2 separate regions of the Homo sapiens genome follow, and region 1 is linked to region 2. The links are contacts of gene promoters, found by promoter capture Hi-C in human tissues and cell types (Jung and others, 2019). All regions are on one chromosome and are shown on one strand. Each heading gives the region's core, a stretch centred on a gene start or on the middle of the fragment in contact. The rest is flanking DNA. Distances are from core to core; before and after follow the strand shown.

Region 1 (2,700 bases), core at 72-2,571, 470 kb after region 2:
CATCTTAGTGGTTTGGATCTAGGTACTGATGTTTCCCATTTCTTGCCAGGATGAGTACAGCATTCTGCCCTATTCATTCATCATTGGGGTCCATGGTTATGTGCTTGTGTATTCTGTCACCTCTCTGCATAGGTAAGTGACCAAGGTTGTGAGTGCGGGACTTGGGAGAACCTGAGGACTGTCTCATAAAGTTATAGCTCCAATTCTTGTGTTTAAAGCTTCCAAGTCATTGAGAGTCTGTACCAAAAGCTACATGAAGGCCATGGGAAAACCCGGTAAGTGGCCCTGGGGGATAGGGACATAGTGTGGGCATGAGGGGGTGGGAGAGAGCAGAGGGGAGAATTGTCAAGTTAGAGAGGAGGCTCGGATATAGATCCTGCCTGGTCTGATAAGGAGTCGTCCAGCCTTGATGTAAGGAGTTGGGGAATGCGGGGAATGAGGGGATTCTGAAGTAACTGCTGTTTCCTCACAGGGTGCCAGTGGTTCTAGTGGGGAACAAGGCAGATCTCTCTCCAGAGAGGTATGTAAATCTCTGCTACTCAGAGCAAAAGGAAGTGAAATGGACTGGGAATCAGTCAGGCTCTCATCCTGGCTCTTCCACTGACTCAAACAAGTCATTTCACCTCTCTTTGTCTCTAACCTGAAGCTTAAGGAAGATAATACTTCTATCTTAAAAGCCACAATTTCATATTTCAAGCCTCAGTCCTAGATTCACCCATTGTTCCTTTGTTTACCTATATTTTCTCCTTCCACAGCCCTCCTCCCAAAACTTGGGGAAATGGCATGGGTCAGAGAAAGTCTTTTTCTTCTCTATTTTTTTTTTTTTTAGACGGAGTCTTGCTCTGTTGCCCAGGCTGGAGTGCAGTGGTGTGATCTCGGCTCACTGCAACCTCTGCCTCCCGGGTTCAAGCGAGTCTCCTGCCTCAGCTTCCCAAGTAGCTGGGACTACAGGCGCGTGCCACCACGCCCAGCTAATTTTTTGTATTTTTAGTAGAGACGGGGTTTCACCATGTTAGCCAGGATGGTCTCGATCTCCTGACCTTGTGATCCACCCGCCTAGGCCTCCCAAAGTATCGGGATTACAGGCACAAGCAACCGCGTGTGGCCCATTTTTTTTTTAATAGAGATGGTGTTTCCCTGTGTTGTCCAGGCTGGTCTTGAACTCCTGAGCTCAAGTGATCCACCACCTCGGCCTCCCAAAGTGCTGCATTACAGGCATGAGCCACTGTGCCTGGCCAGGAAGTCTTGATTCTGAAGATTTTTCAGAGCACTTACTGACATTTCTATCCTCCATCTTTATGTCCCAAATTTGCTTCCAGAGAGGTACAGGCAGTTGAAGGAAAGAAGCTGGCAGAGTCCTGGGGTGCGACATTTATGGAGTCATCTGCTCGAGAGAATCAGGTGCTGGGCCTGAAGACTAGAAGGGTGGTGATGGTAGCTGTGTTTTCCTTATTGTACTGCTTGGTGGTGGGAATGTTGCGGGAATGGGGCTTTCACCCCAGAGCTGGGTGGTATTGGCACTGAACTGACTTTTGCCCTGAATCCTCTCCTCTTATAGCTGACTCAAGGCATCTTCACCAAAGTCATCCAGGAGATTGCCCGTGTGGAGAATTCCTATGGGCAAGAGCGTCGCTGCCATCTCATGTGAGCCCTTGGGTGTGGGGTAACTGCCTTGCTTCTGCCCCCGGCACTTGCCATGTTCCAGTGGGGGGCAGATCCTCAGGACTTCACGGGTATGGTTGCCAGCTGTGTTCCTGGCCCCTGGACACACAGTGTGGCATCCTCATGTTTGCACACTTTCCCCAGGCTCCAGTGGCCTGGATGTCAATGTTTACAAAGGGGCAAGGACCTCTCATGGACACTGGCCTCTAGCCCTCTGTTTTTGTTTGATGAATTCTGTTATAACCTATGGGGTCAGGATATGAGTCCTGGGCATTATTTATCCAGGACCCATCCTCTTGGGTGGGTTTTGGGTGTTGGCTGGGTAAGGGGAGCCGGGGACTTCTGAAATAGAGCTGGCTCCCTGGGGTGACAATGTATATATGCAAATAAATTGAGAAATCTTTTGTTGTTGACTTCTTTTTCGTGTGTGTGTGTGAGACGGAGTTTCACTCTGTTGCCCAGGCTGGAGTGGTGCAGTGCTGCAATCTTGGCTCGCTGCAACCTCCGCCTCCCAGGTTCAAGCAGTTCTCCTGCCTCAGTCTTCTGCAGGCACCCGCCACCATGCCTAGCTAACTTTTTTATTTTTAGTAGAGATGAGGTTTCACCTAGGCCAGGATGGTCTCGAACTCCTGACCTTAAGTGATCCACCCACCTCAGCCTCCCAAAGTGCTGGGATTACAGGCGTGAGCCACTGCCCCCGGCCTTATTTTATTGTTGACTTCTATGTATCTAGTGAGAGCTCAGAGCCAAGATCTCTTTTTCCAAGGAGTGATGGCTGTGGTCTTTGGTGGGATATCTTTCCTCCTACCTTGTTCCTATTCCTTATTCCTCACTTATTAAGGACCATTATCCTAAGATTTACTACTTGCCTTTCCCACCTTTCTATTCTGCTGGGTTCCTCATATACTAAGTCCAGTTGGCTGCCACTCCCATCCAAGTTTTGTAGCCTTTCAAGATCCCCTTAATTACAGAAACACCACCCTCTAGTGGCCAACTGCAACATGCTGACCTAGCTGTCTTCCTGGGGCCTCGGCATTT
Region 2 (2,700 bases), core at 116-2,615:
AGGAATTAGTGAATGTGATCAAGAATGGGGGTGTAAGAATGGTGACTGAGCACGGGAGCCAGGAGCCAGGAATGTATTGGGGAGTGGGGGGCACTGAATCAGCAGGCTGCAGGAGCCAAGCACACTGGCAAAGCAGATGGAGGAGCCCGGAGTGGGGAGAGCGCAGGGCTGGGCTCCCACCCCCTATCAGGAACCGGAGACCAAGGAGGACCTAGGCAGAGAGCTGGGAAGCCCCACGGGGGATGTGAGGGAGAGGAGGAGGGAGGGGCTTTCATCACTTCCCCTGTGCTCAGAGCCCCCAGAACCGGGGATCCAGAGCTCGGGGCGCCTTCTCCAAACTTCCCCAGTCCTGATGGGAGTCCCCAAACCATCTTCTTGGGGCTAGATGGCCTCCCCAAGTCTAGGGGGTTCAGGCTATGAGACACGGGGCTTGGACACACGGTGCTCTCCCGAGTGCCGCCTACTCTTATCTCCGTTTGCAAATCTCTTTTCTAAATCTGTGTTTTGAGCCCTCTCAGCTGTCCCTGAGCACTGTTCACCCGCCTCGCCTTACCCCACCAGTCCGAGGGTAGTTGCTGCGACAGCGCCAGACGCAGGGGTGGGATGGGTCAGACTGACTAGGTTCGGGTTCGAGACCCGGCTAACAGAGAGCATCCCAGGACCCACACCCAGGGACTTCTGGCCCTGTTGCCTCGCCTGAAGCAGTGTTGACCCCGAACCTTCGAACCTTCGGGGAAACAGCGCCTAGCAGGAGACGATGGCCCCAGCCTCAAGAGGGGCGGGTAGGGAGGAGAGGGTGAGAATAGGCTGGCGCCAAGCTGGGCTGCTGGGGGTTCGGGGAAGGCGGGAGCCCTGGCGAGGGTCCGGCGGCCCGGGTGCAAGTGGGCGAGGGTCGGACTCACGCGTGCCGTCGAAGCGCGTAGCGATGGTGTCCAGGAAGGTGTTCTGCGGCGCCAGGAGGCCCCGCATGGCCGGCATCTTAGGCGCCCGCGGCTGCCCGCCCCATCCCTCCGGGGTGCGGGGACTCCGCGCCGGGGGAGGGCGCCCAGCTCGGCCGCCCCCCGCCGGGCCCCGCGCTCCCTAGCGCAGCCGTCGGGGGGCAATGCGCAGACCGGGATCCGGGGTCGCGCCGGACGCTGGCGCGCGAGGGGGCGTCCGCGCCGTCGGGGCCCGGAGCATGGCGCGCGGCCCCTCGCGCCCTCGCCGCCCACAAATCCCGGGCTCCAGGCCCCGCGGCCGCCGCGCTCTCAGCACCTCCCGCCGCGGCAGCGGCTCGCGTGTCGGCTGCGGGTGGGCTTCCGCTCGGCTTCGCTCGGCGCCGGCTCTCGGCAGCTCCCTCCGTCTGTCGGGGAGAAGCTGCAGCCTCCCTCCCTCCCTCCCGCGCCCGCCGCCTGCACCGGGGTAACCATGGAGACGGGGCACACCCAGCCAGGGCCGCCTCCTTAAAGGGACAGGCCTCCCGCGGAGGGCTCCCCTCCCTTCGGGACCTCGGCGGGGGCGGGGAGGTGGCGGCCGCCCTGATCCCACCCCGCGGGCCTCCCCGCCCGTACCTCGGAGAACCACTGGCGAGCGGCCGGCCCCCTTTGGCTCACTCGGCCTCAGCCGCAGAGGGGAGGCGTCTTTCTCTGCAGCCCGGGGGCTCTCCGAGAGCCTCCTAGCAGCCTCTCCTCCCCCGGCGGAATGGGAGGGGGGCTCGGGGCGTGGGGGGCAGGGGACGCATGCTGTGGAAGATGCTCTCCCCGAGGAAAATGCAGTGGGCAAGGGGACAGGGCGACAGGCGCAGGTGAAGGCCCTGCGGCCAGCGGAGGCCGGCGCTCTAGAGGGGCTCCAGCCGCACCCGGGAAATCTAAAAGCAGATGGGGCGGGGGTTCTGCGCGCACAGCTGCCCGGCCCTCGAGACTTTCTCATCCTCAACTTGACGCTCTGGAAAATGGATCCAGCTGCTCCTATGAGGTGTCTCCGCAAGCAGGAGCTGCCTGGAAACCAGAGGGTGGGTAGCCCTAGGAGTAAGGGTCAGACGTCCTCCGTGTGACCCCGTGGGCGGAAAGGGTGTGTGGTGGGGAGGGGAGCGCCAGACCCCTTGTCCTGCCCCTCCATTTCCCTCTGGCATTTGTCACCTCTTGCCTCTCCTAAGCGCGCTAGAGGGTCAGGTGGTAAATACAGGGGACCGGCAGGGGTCAGACACTGCGAAAAAACTTCCGAACCTTGTGCGTGCGGGTCCTGGCACCAGGAGAGCGAGGAAGGCCGAGCCCCGCGCCTCACGCAGCTCGTCCTGGAGAGCTCCGCGCGGCGCCGCGCGGGGTGCTGCCCTGGGGCGGCTGCAGGGAGCCCCTTCCCGGCGGGGCGGAGCCGGGCCCGGGGCGGCCGTCTTTTCTTGGCCTCCCGCGCTGCGACGGTCCCCCGGACTTGCCTGCCAGCGCCGCTCCTCCTCCCTCCCACGATTTGCCAGCGAGCGCGGCTGCCGCCCGCGCCCAGAGGAGCCGCCGGGGCCAAAACAGCAATTTGTTCCCTAACGAGCGAAGCGGTAGGCTCAGCACCCCCATCCCTCGAGACGCACTCACAGTCACCAGCATCAGAAAGATGCTACCCCTCATCAGCGACGAGAGCCAAAGCCCCAGGCACCTGTATCTAAATGAGCTGGCGCTTTGGGAAGGGAGGACGCGCTCCTCCTTCTCCGGTCCTGTGAAGCCTGGAATCTGG

The links. The method cuts DNA at HindIII sites, captures the fragments that hold promoters and counts their contacts. A contact is called where the count stands out against the background at its distance.
Region 1: a contact is called between a fragment that was not itself captured here and the fragment with the promoter of KCNH3 in region 2, in 1 of the 25 tissues and cell types used here (dorsolateral prefrontal cortex).

The regions. Positions count from the first base shown.
Region 1 is chr12:49,064,051-49,066,750 of GRCh38, reverse strand. It overlaps RHEBL1 (RHEB like 1), which reads left to right. Exons shown (of 8, transcript NM_144593.3): 4 at 50-132; 5 at 219-275; 6 at 473-520; 7 at 1,320-1,401; 8 at 1,559-2,075. The coding sequence ends at 1,648. Among named protein-coding and RNA genes, the nearest start is that of RHEBL1, 4.6 kb to the left of the region's middle. The HindIII fragment of the contact is 1,778 bases long and covers 433-2,210 here.
Region 2 is chr12:49,537,695-49,540,394 of GRCh38, reverse strand. KCNH3 (potassium voltage-gated channel subfamily H member 3) reads right to left here and starts at 1,365. Exons shown (of 15, transcript NM_012284.3): 1 at 903-1,365. The coding sequence starts at 978. RefSeq lists enhancers at 436-1,245, 1,246-2,057 and silencers at 1,375-1,554, 2,285-2,404. The HindIII fragment of the contact is 20,416 bases long and covers 1-2,700 here.